Regions from separate parts of the Homo sapiens genome. Here all the other regions are linked to region 4. Evidence: promoter capture Hi-C in 16 types of primary human blood cells and fetal thymus (Javierre and others, 2016). All regions are on one chromosome and are shown on one strand. Each heading gives the region's core, a stretch centred on a gene start or on the middle of the fragment in contact. The rest is flanking DNA. Distances are from core to core; before and after follow the strand shown. Region 1 has its middle 11 kb from the start of GNLY. Region 2 holds the start of RNF181 (ring finger protein 181). Region 3 overlaps ST3GAL5 (ST3 beta-galactoside alpha-2,3-sialyltransferase 5). Region 4 holds the start of KDM3A (lysine demethylase 3A).

What was found. Contacts are between HindIII fragments. The CHiCAGO score rates a contact against its expected background, and 5 or more counts as called.
Region 1: a contact is called between a fragment that was not itself captured here and the fragment with the promoter of KDM3A in region 4, in 1 of 17 cell types (total B cells). The highest score is 6.1, in total B cells.
Region 2: the fragment with the promoter of RNF181 here is called in contact with the fragment with the promoter of KDM3A in region 4 in 7 of 17 cell types (naive CD8 T cells, fetal thymus, total B cells and 4 more); the score reaches 11.7 in naive CD8 T cells.
Region 3: a fragment that was not itself captured here is called in contact with the fragment with the promoter of KDM3A in region 4 in 1 of 17 cell types (naive CD4 T cells); the score reaches 5.8 in naive CD4 T cells.

The regions. Positions count from the first base shown.
Region 1 is chr2:85,704,430-85,707,129 of GRCh38, forward strand. No RefSeq gene overlaps it. Among named protein-coding and RNA genes, the nearest start is that of GNLY, 11 kb to the left of the region's middle. RefSeq lists an enhancer at 531-1,032. The HindIII fragment of the contact is 1,329 bases long and covers 587-1,915 here.
Region 2 is chr2:85,594,295-85,596,994 of GRCh38, forward strand. It overlaps RNF181 (ring finger protein 181), which reads left to right and starts at 1,451. Exons shown (of 5, transcript NM_016494.4): 1 at 1,451-1,555; 2 at 2,225-2,355; 3 at 2,528-2,637. The coding sequence starts at 1,470. RefSeq lists a silencer at 1,343-1,482. The HindIII fragment of the contact is 2,864 bases long and covers 1-2,687 here.
Region 3 is chr2:85,877,767-85,880,639 of GRCh38, forward strand. All of the region lies in intron 1 of ST3GAL5 (ST3 beta-galactoside alpha-2,3-sialyltransferase 5), which reads right to left. Among named protein-coding and RNA genes, the nearest start is that of ST3GAL5, 9.8 kb to the right of the region's middle. The HindIII fragment of the contact is 875 bases long and covers 890-1,764 here.
Region 4 is chr2:86,439,873-86,442,643 of GRCh38, forward strand. It overlaps KDM3A (lysine demethylase 3A), which reads left to right and starts at 1,499. Exons shown (of 26, transcript NM_018433.6): 1 at 1,499-1,572; 2 at 2,146-2,361. The coding sequence starts at 2,176. RefSeq lists enhancers at 568-1,111, 933-1,132, 1,213-1,292, 2,283-2,342 and silencers at 1,423-1,812, 2,033-2,082. The HindIII fragment of the contact is 3,261 bases long and covers 32-2,771 here.

The DNA of each region.
Region 1 (2,700 bases), core at 1-2,500, 740 kb before region 4:
GGCTCACTGCAACCTCTGCTTCCTGGGTTCAAGCAATTCTCCTGCCTCAGCCTCCCGAGTAGCTGAGATTACAGGCGCGTACCACCAAGCCTAATTTTTGTATTTTTAGTAGAGATGGGGTTTTGCCATGTTGGCCAGGCTGGTCTCGAACTCCTGACCTCAGGTGATCTGACTGCCTCGACCTCCCAGTGTGCTGGGATTACAAGTGTGAGGCACCGTGCCCCACTAGTTATTGTACTTTTCAACTCCAGAATTTCCATTTGGTTCTTTTTAAGAATAATTCTATCTCTGTATTAATATTTCTATTTGATGAGACATTATCATCATATCTTTCTTTACTTCTTCAATCACAGTTTTCTTTAGTTATTTCTGAACATATTTATAATGGTTGCTAGGAAATCTTTGTTAAATCTGATATCTGGTTGCTTTCACAGGCAGTTTCTGTTCCTGTTTTTTTTTTGTGTGTGTGTGTATGGATCACTCTTTTATTTCTTTTTATAGCTCTTAAGTTTCTCTGGGAAACTGGGCTTTTTAGACAATATATTGTCACATATCTGGCTACCGGTCATCCCCCTGCCCCTACCCAAGCTTGATACTGTTATTTACTTGTTTTGTTGTTTGGTGACTGGTTGGATTATTTTAGTGAATTCCCCCACCTGCCACAGTGTGAAGCCTCTGATGTTGCACCTTAAGGAGCGTTGCCTTGAGTGTACCCACAGTCATCCTGTAATGACAGTGGTTTTGGCGGGGCTCTCTTATCTATTTCTTTCTCTGACCACAGCTATCCGTTAAACTACGCTAATTCCTGGCTGATTGCTCTGTTGTTTTCAACAATGCCTTTTATGGAAAAACAAACCATGTTTTTCCTCTGCTCTTACACCAACACAACAACAATCAACACAGAAGACTTCTCTGACTCCTAAATACGTGGCTGTTTCTCCCCACCAGCAAGCAAGCAGTCAGTTCCGCAGTGGACACCAGCTAGGTGTCCTCCAACTCAATTCTGACGCTATTTATCTGGAGACAGTGTCAGATCCCACAGGTTGGGGGCTCAGTCCCCATAATTGCCTTGGCAGATTTGGGATTTGAATCCAGGCAGTCTTAGCTGTGAACCACCACACAAATCCACCTTTCTCCAAAGAATGGAGGCCTGAGCTCCCTTGTAACTTGGGGTAAATAATCTGGGCACATATCCTTGAGGAATAGCAGGACCAGAATGCTCTGCACAGGACTGGAAATGGCTGGGGGGAGGAAAACCAAGTCCCTGACAGTGTTGACCATTTCCTTCATCCTGTGAGGCAATGGGCTTGACCCTGCAATGTTCCCAGCACAAGTCTGAGGAGTGATGCAATAGAGAGTGGGTGAGTTGAGTAACCACTTGAAATTCCACTCCTCTCTTCCCTTTTCATAACAGGTGTCCTAACTTTCTGCCAAGCACACTCAGGTTTTCCATGTTCTGCTTAGAAGTTACCAACTGGCTGTTGGTTAGGCCTAGCAAATTATGTAGACTTCTTTTCGGCTAAGAATCATAGCAAGTTTATTCCCTCAGGGTAGGAAGGTCATATTTTTTCTTTAGGCTCCACCTTGGTCTTCCCTCGGAAGGGGAAATAGGAATTCTTTCTTCCTCAGGATGAGCTCGTATAAGGCCAGGCTCATTGATGATAAGAAGCAGAAATGGACTCAGCCTAAATTAAGACAAGGGAAGTGACAGGGCGGCCATGGCTGCCACAGGATGGAAGGGAAGGACTAGAACAGAGCTTAAACAGACAGGGGCCAGGCAGCTCAGATGGTTTTGGAAGCAGGGACGGTTCCACAGTCTTGCCTAGGTGCCATTACTGGGATGAATGAGCTTCCACCACTCCTTCTGTCCTTGTGTTTCTTACTCCATAGTCACATTCCTAGGAAAGCAAGTCCAAGCTTAGTTCTCATGCCTGCCTTTGGTTGCTGTAAGATGGCGAGAGGAAAGTCAGGCAGCGGCAGGGCACCTGGAAGACCCTTTTGTCTTAGGAATGGGATGGCGGATGCTGGGTTTACTCTCCACCAAGACTGTACAAAGTAGGTGCCAGATAATTCTCCAAAAGAAGATAGGCAGAGGAATAGGCAGTGCCAAATTCCCAGCACAGCTTGTGCTGGCAGGTGGGTACTGTCACTGTGGTACTTCCAAATAGGAAGAGATGTCTCTGACAGAATCAGGAACTGGATGGAGATTTACCCGTAGAAAAATGGTGACCTAAGTGAGATATGCTTTCCCCTTGCTCAGGCCGAAAACCCTGGGGTTCTTGCAACAGACTTCCAGCACGCCCCCCGTGGGTGCCTCTTGCCCTCTCCTGCCACTCATGGGAGCAGGACTGGTAGTATGAGGACACTAACAGGGGAAGTGACTGCCGTCATCTTGATTTCCTGTGTCTGAGCCTCTTATTCTGTGGTTAGATGGACACAAGGTCCCACAGTGGGGCCCCATTGCCCCCCTCTCACCCCCCTTTTTAGCCATGTTGAGTGGGTCTCTGTTTCTTGCTTCAAATGGAGCCTCTTGCTTCTCCAGCCCCAGATAGAGAGCCTGCACGCATGACTTTGTGCGTCTTTGTAAGCCCCACCAGGCCCTGGGTCGGGGAGATCTGAGTGTGAAGGGGCAGAGCCCGAGAACCTGCCCAGCTCCTTGCCTGGCTTGGGACCTCAATAAGCTCTGTCCACCCTCCACCC
Region 2 (2,700 bases), core at 201-2,700, 850 kb before region 4:
CCTGGGCTCAAGCAATTCTCTTGCCTTTAGTGCTGGGATTGCAGGCGTGAGCCACCATGTCCAGCCTGAATTCAGGCTTTTCAAAGCTACAGGGCCATATAGGCCAGGGAGGCAGTGCCTTCAGGGCCATAGCAAAGATCATTGGGCAAAGGCATGGAAGAAGGAAATAAAGCCACACCAAGACTGTGGAAACAGGGCAGCCTCTGCCTGGGCTACTTAGCTGCAGTTCAAACTCAGGTGTGAGTGGCAAGGGGAATTCAGGGTCAAGTGTGTAAAATAAGCAGTTCCTTGCTGGGTAAAGTGAGCGCTACTGACAGAAACCAGAATAAGCCTGAGTTGTGTGGAGCTTCACCCCTTACAGAGCGTGTTAGTTTTACTGAGCGCATTAGCGTCTTCCTCTCTTGGGAAAGATGGAGGAAAGCACTTGGCCCTGCAGCTGGTCTGCAACACCACTTACAGACTGCAAATTTGGGCAAGCCACTTCTGAGGTAAAAAGGGCATAATGACGCTTAGCTCCTGGGTCTATTGAGGGGATGATCGAGCGTGTAAAACATACATCAGACTAACAGTTCTAGATGCTAAATAGTACCTATCATCCAAATCATTGAGTGCAGTGGTTCTTAAACCTGCTTCACCTGCATAATTTATACAAGTGCCATTGCCCAGGCCCCACCACAGATCAGTTAAATCAGAATCTTCGAAGGTATCAGACACGGGTGTTTCTAAAGCTCCTCCGCGCCCATTCTCTCCTCTGGGAATTCATGTGTAGCCAGGAATGAAAAGGTCTTAGTACAAGCCAGCAGTTTTACAGAAGCTAGGGATAGCAACGGGCTGAAGGTAACAGTCCCATGAGCTGGTTGAGGCCCCAGGTTCTCCGGCAAAGAGATCTCTCTCAGTTGGGGAGGCTTGCCCCACCCTTTATTATTATGCCTAACACATAAGAAATGCGCAGGAATCAAACGCAAACTGGTGAACCAACTAGAGGGCCGCGGGGGCAGAAGTGTCCGGCGGGGATCCGGACAGCGCATCCGGAAGCGCCATGGGCCAACGCTCGCAGGAACCTGAACCCCTGGGCCAGCGCCGCCTTTGCTCGCAGAGGCCTCTAGCATCTGTACTGTCGAAGCCCTCTGAGCTTCAGGGCAGACTGAAGAGCCTTACACACCAGACACTTGGACGCGATCGCGCCAGAAATCCCCGGGAATTCAGTCTTGGCTCCGACTCCAAAACAAATGATTCCTCACCAGCCAGATCTCCATCATTGGCGTTAGTCTCTGGTCACCTGACTTGTTCAAGCCAATGAGAGGGGGCCGAATTAGTACTTCCGCTTTCCGTGCTGTTTAACGAGCCACTATGCCCGTCCCTCGGATACTCTGATTGGCCAGCCTCTCTCAGCTCGTCAGTTTATTGGCCAGCGCCGCTAGGCCGCTATCGAGCAGGGTCCGAGGGCTGTGTCAGAAGGCTGGGCAGCCATGGCGTCCTATTTCGATGAACACGACTGCGAGCCGTCGGACCCTGAGCAGGAGACGCGAACCAACATGCTGCTGGAGCTCGCAAGGTGGGTGCGCGGGGCTTGGGGATAGGGTCCAACCAGCAGGTTTCTGGGCTGGGGCTGGCTGGAGAAGGCGGATTACCAGGGGCAGCGGATTCTGGGGAGGACAGATGAGTAATCTGGAGTGTTAGTACGGGCGGCGAGACTGAGGGGTGTGGGGATGAGCATCTCGATAATTTGGGCCGTCCGTTGGGCCGGCCTGGGGCAAGGGGATTGCGGGAAAGATTGGAGCTGGAGAGTGGTGGGCGTGGGGGCGGAAGGACAGCAGGCTCTGGGAGGTCTCAGAGAAGGTGAGGCATGGGGGCGGGGTTGGGGCCGTGTGCTGTGAGTGGGTATATTCATCAGTAACAGCAGGCACTGCTGTTACTGGACCTGGAATCTGGCTTGGTCTTGGAATCTGGGCTCTACCAGGTTATTCAGCGTAGCCTGAGTAACTTCTCTGAATCTGTTGCCTCATGTGTAAAATGGGAATAAACACTTTACGTGCTGGGGCGGTCTGATAGCAGTTGTAAACTATTTCCCATCGTGCTTTTTATCTAGTGAGCATCTACTAACTACTAAGGGTAGCTATTATTCCTACTAGCTGGGCAGCGTGTTTATTAATGTCCAGTGGATTATGGGGACAAAGAAAAAGCATAGTTTTCCTTTGTTCTGACTTTACATCCCCTTCCCCAGGTCACTTTTCAATAGGATGGACTTTGAAGACTTGGGGTTGGTAGTAGATTGGGACCACCACCTGCCTCCACCAGCTGCCAAGACTGTGGTTGAGAACCTCCCCAGGACAGTCATCAGAGGCTCTCAGGCTGGTGAGGACACTGATTCTTTCTGCTATTTGGGCCAGACCCACCCCTTCCCCAAGCCAGACTGTGGTCTGGTCCTTCAGTTTTCCAGGTCAGGTGGGGGCAAGTGTCCTTCAGGAGTGGGAGCTTGGGAGGCAGAGCCTGTAGCAGCTCTCCTGATCAGCACTCCTTCCTAAAGAGCTCAAGTGCCCCGTGTGTCTTTTGGAATTTGAGGAGGAGGAGACTGCCATTGAGATGCCTTGCCATCACCTTTTCCATTCCAGCTGCATTCTGCCCTGGCTAAGCAAGGTACTGCTTCTCTTCTTCTAGCTCTCACCGTGCCCTGGGCCCAGTACTCAAGCTTCTTTCTGT
Region 3 (2,873 bases), core at 77-2,576, 560 kb before region 4:
CCTCAGGAATGAAACTAGGGCTGGATAAAACAGTAGGTGATGAACAAAAATTAACATGTAAGACTCCTATCAGACTTAATTTCCCCATTTATGTTCACTCTTAGCTATTAAGAAAAAAAAATAACCTTTAGATTTTCTTTTGAGAATACAGTATATATGAGTTGGGAGTATGGTAATTTCTCTATTGGTGCTTCCATGTCTGCTAGAAACTTAGCCCTTCAATTCACAAAGTGTCCAGTGGCAGCAAGAAGAGACACCCAGGTCCAGAGAGCTAACAGCTGGAGCCATCCTCACACCAATGCCTGATTTTCCAAGGGCAACGCTGCACGGCTCAGCTTGGTGATTCCCAGCTCACTGTGGCACAATGTAGGCAGCTACATTTAAAAACAAGAACTCTACTCTCAACTGATGACCAGGTTTAGAAACTCTGATTTGCCTTACCCAAGAAATATTTTAAAAACCCTGTTAGGACACAAGTAGAAATTTCAGAAAATAATATAAGAACAGAACATTTAAAAATCACTGTTATCTTACAACCCAGTGATACCCACTGTTAACATTCTGGTCTGTATTCTGTCAGCCTCTGCTCTTTGCATAGATATACTATCATGACGGGGGTCATGCTATCTACACCAGCCTCATTCAAGGTGCATTCCACTCGGGAATGAAGTCCTACAAAAAAGAACAGATTTTTCTCAATTCTCCCAGGAATGATCTATAACTAGAATCATTCCAGAAGCAAGGAGAGAAGTTAATTCATAACATACAATGGTCGCCTGACAGTATTGGGACAAAAGTCTCTTGTAGAACCTCAGTTGAGAAGGGCTGGTCTGTATGGTTGTCTAATTTTCTTTGTTTACCTAACAATCCTTTAAATAAAAATTTCATAAGCTTCTTCCATACACCAAGCACTGGGAATATAAAAATAAATAAGACACAGCCGCTTTCCTCTTTAAATGAATAATCCAGCTAGGAAAACTGAAAATGCCCAAATACTCGAAATACCAAATAACGCTGTGATAGAGGAGCTACAGTAGACCTTGTGCATCCTGGGCAGGAAACCACAGGCTCCATCAGAGGAAATCAGGGAGGCCTCCCTGAGGAGGTTATGTATGAATGGGTCCTCGAAGAATGACTAAGACTCTGGAGACAGGACAGAGAGAGGAGGCGGCATTCCAGACAGAAGGAAGGTAATGCCAAGACACACAGAGAGAGGTGTGTGCTCGGGCCAGATTACAGGGGCCTGGGGAACAGTGGGCAGAAGACGCAGCTAGGAAGGAACCAGGCTCTCTTATGTTACACAAAGGAGGATGGCCCTAAGTGGTTCTTAAGTAGGAGAGTGGTGAGCTCATACTGGCATGAAAGAGGCCAAGGGACAGGGTAATCAAAAGACCACTGAGATCAGTGCAGTGAGGGGTGACGGAGGAGCTGAGCCACAGCCAGAAAGGCCGGAAGGTGGCCAACCAAGAGATGTGGAGGAGGAAGGTGCCACAGGACTTGGTGCCCAAGCCAGGAGGGGCTATTATTATAGCACTGGGCCAGCCAAGACCCATCCTGTGTAACAAATTCAGGTGGCTAAAGAGGGGAGTCGCAGGGGAGAAGGTATGCAAGAAGGCTTCAAATGTTACTGTTTCTCAAAATGATTTAATGGTGAAGGTAGGGGTGTCCCTCAAAGAGAAAGAGGCCAGAGGGAGCAAGACATGACACTAGGGGTAAACTGAAGAAATTGCCCCTAGAACTGCCCCTCCCCCTGGGGTCCCATCAAGCTTTTACATAATAGCTTTCCTGTGGTGGGCCTGTGTGACAGCACATTATACACGCAGAATCTGCTATGAGAGAACAACTCTGTGGCAACCCCATGAATACCCCAAATAAGGCAAAATCTAGAAGCTAAATGTTTAATGGAACATTTCCCTCTTAACCCAAAGGAAATACAAGTAGTTGGGCTGAATAAATAATACTTAACAGGAGAAAGTGAAAGTCAGCAGAACTGACAGTTAACAAAAAGCAATTCTGGGACCCAGTACCCAAAGGCTCCAACATATGGGCCTTTTACTAAACTTGAGCAGAATGGGGAACACAGGGTATCAGATGATGGGAAAGTTTGTGGGCAATTTCTAAAACAATGAAGATCCCACTGCCGCAGAAAGCATAAGGTGAAAGTTCTTAAGGTTTTGGACTATAAAAGTGATATCACCAAATAGGATCTTAGAAATATTCTTCAGGGAACAGCTGTCCAGGTGGATGGGAAGGGAAGATAGGGAATTTGCTAGGCAGTTTTTTCCAATAACCCATGGTATTCAGTAATCCTGTATGTCTTATAGGAACAGAAGAACCAGAGGAGTCATAGAAAGCCCCAAATCAGAAAATAATGACCCTAGAAAAGGAACTGGAGGGACAGTGACTGGGACAGTGACAACCCGGAGTTTGGCAGGACCTGGCAATTTAGGGTTGGAAGGAGAGGGAGGAATTGTACAGGAGACAAAAGGAGATTTTGTTTGGGCTGCTTAAAACTCAGAACAAGTTACATTTCCATTTCTAAAACCAACAACATATATTCAGGTCTAACTAAAACATATAATTTTCTTTTACACCCCACTCACATCTCTTTTACTGTTGGCTCTGAAATTCTGGGAAACCAGCATTTGGGCAGGCTCCCCAACAGACATAACAGTTTTTAATTATACAACCCATTTTTGATCAAATAGGAGTATGTGCCTGGGGAGATAGCAACAAGAAACACACGCACTGTCCCTCCTTCAAAAAGCTCTCATAGGCTGGGCATGGTGGCTCATGCCTGTAATCCCAGCACTTTGGGAGGCTGAGGTGGGTGGATCACCTTAGGTCAGGAGTTCAAGACCAGCCTGACCAAC
Region 4 (2,771 bases), core at 249-2,748:
TTTGATTAAATATTTTAGCCCAGTATTTTCAAGCTTCCTGTTTTGTAAGCATTTGCTTATGGTCAATTTATAGCTGGATTGTCCTTTTATTCCCAACTGTCTTTTAAAACTTGTGAGTGAAATTAACCCATTTACATTTATTGTAAATACTGATGTTTGGACTTTTCACATGAAAAACATTTTTACCATATGTTCTGGTTTCTTTTGCTTATCTCGTTCCCATTTCTGCCTTCTTTCAGCTGGATAGGTTTTTTCTTCTCATTTAGCAGCCCCCTTCCTTTAAATGGTCTACAGATTATAAATCCAATTTAATTCTTGTTACTAACTTTAAAAACTTAAAATCACATTCAGAATATGTATATTGAAAATCAACATCCAGAGTTGATTTGCATCTATAATCCCTTATATGTTTCCAAACATTCTCTGATTATACGTTTCCACGCTTGTAAAATGGGAGGCATGAGTTCTTCTTAAGGATTAAATGTGATGTAATGTCAAACACTAGCCTTTATGAACATATCTTCAATTTCTTCATTCCATTTCTTTTTCATTCAATCAAAATACTTCAGGTCCAGAGCACACAATCACCTCTAAACTCCTTTGTCCTTCAAAGTCACCTTCTCTTTCATCTCTTCCATCATTCATTATGGCCTTCAACTACTTTAAATTTCTTTGTAAGTATCTGAATACCTTCTCAATCCCACTTTGGAGAAAAAAAAATCTCATTATACATTGTATTTAAAGGTCTCTTTTGCTCTAAATTTAATGAACGTCATTATCCAGTAACTCCACGCCTTTCTTCATTTATCCTTCAAAATGGCGGACTTTAGACGTTCCACGATCAGTACCACGTGCGCCTGCGCCTCCCGCAGCCATTTCGCCCAGCAGCCTAAGCTCGGCGAGGCGCCTGCGCACGAGCCTCCAGAGCACTATCGCTCCTCCCTCTAGCTGAGTACGCCTGAAACCGCACGTTCTCTTCCCTGCCCTCCCCCGCTAACCCTGCACCGCCCTCACCCTTTCCTGTGAGATTCTTCCGCCAAGTGGAAGGCTCATCTTCGGTCGACAGCCTACGCGGTTGAAGAACAATCCAGTAGGCACTTATAGCTCAGGGTCTCGCCATTCAGTCTTATCTATGCGCCACAGCAATTTTCCTCCGGGCCCCAAAGTTGATAACCGATTTCGCGGGACTTTTTTTTTGCATACTGTGAGGCAACAAATGGAAAGAATAGGCCTATGGCGGAGGGATCACTCGCTTATTCTCTGTGTACTTTAACCTAATGGGGGTCGCCCGGGAGTCGGAAGGGGGAGGGGAAAGGGAGGAGGCAGCCAAGGAATTGTTTTTTTCTCTGGCCCCGCCCTCGCCCGGGGGGCCAATGGTGATGATCTGTTTCCCCCGGAGCCTCGCCCAGCTCCTGTGTTTCAGCCAATGAGCGGCGGAAGCGGCTCCGAGGGGGGCGGGTCCGGGAGGCTGTGCGTGTCTTGTGAGAGCTCTTGAACCAAGTCAGCGCTGGAGTCGGCTAGGCGGCTGGAAACGGCGGCTGCCGCCGGTGACTCAGGGAGGCGGGAGGCGGGGTAAGAGCGCCGCGGCCTCGGCTGCGGGGAGAGGGGAGAGAAAGGTGAAAGCGCCGAGCGCGCGGCCCCGTCGCCCGTTGGCAGCGGCGCAGGCCCGGGAGACGGGCGCCCGGGGTTCGGGGCCGGGGAGCTGGGCGCCGGGGCGGGGCGGCGGGGCAAGTGCGGAATCGCGGGCTCGCCCACCCTCCCCCGTGGGGCCGCCCGGGGCGGGGACCCAGCCGCCCGGGACCGGCTCTCTGCACCAGGGGCCTTTTCTTTTCGGGGCTGGGGGCTGAGCACTTTCAAATCCACTCGAGCCGCAGATAATTTTTCCCTCACTCCCTCTGCGGTTGCGTTTGAGCTGTTAGAAAAGCCAAACTTGGGAGAGCGAGGGTCACGCGGCGCTGGGGCCCGGGTGTGTGGCGGGGGAGGGCGGCGGGGGGCGGGAGGGCGCAGGAGGGGGGCTCGGTGCGGGTCCGCCCGGGGCCGCGTCCTCGCGCGGGTTCGGCGCCCTCCGCCCGCCCTCCCTGCTGTCTCCGCCCGGCCCCCTCCCACCGGCCGCCCCCGTCGCATTTTGTTTTTGTGTTTTTGCAGGGAGGAGCTCTTCCTGCAGGCGTGGAAACCATGGTGCTCACGCTCGGAGAAAGTTGGCCGGTATTGGTGGGGAGGAGGTTTCTCAGTCTGTCCGCAGCCGACGGCAGCGATGGCAGCCACGACAGCTGGGACGTGGAGCGCGTCGCCGAGTGGCCCTGGCTCTCCGGGACCATTCGAGCTGTTTCCCACACCGACGTTACCAAGAAGGATCTGAAGGTACAGGCGGCTCCGGGCCTCTGCCACCGGACGTTTCGCAGTTACCGTGGTAACGCGACCATCGGTTCCCTCCTTCCGTTTTCTGAAAACGGAGACCAGAAAGTTGGCATATGATCTGAAGGTGCAGGAAGCTAGATCTTGAAAGTCTTTGGAATGGTTGTATAGAGCCGAGTTGTGTTTGGCCCACAGCTCCTGGCTGCCTGGCTTTAATAATGGGCTTAGGGTTGTTCAGACACGCTTCATTAATGCCGGTGCTGTGTCCCACCAGGACTGTCTCATCTTTACTGCAGAGGAGGAGGAGTATTTTTGTTAGCGTTAGGTAGGGCCTGTAAGTGACGTTTGGAGTCATTAAGAATTGAAGGTTAGTGCTTGGAAGTACTTTCAGCTGGTTTTGTTTGTTTGTTCCTGTT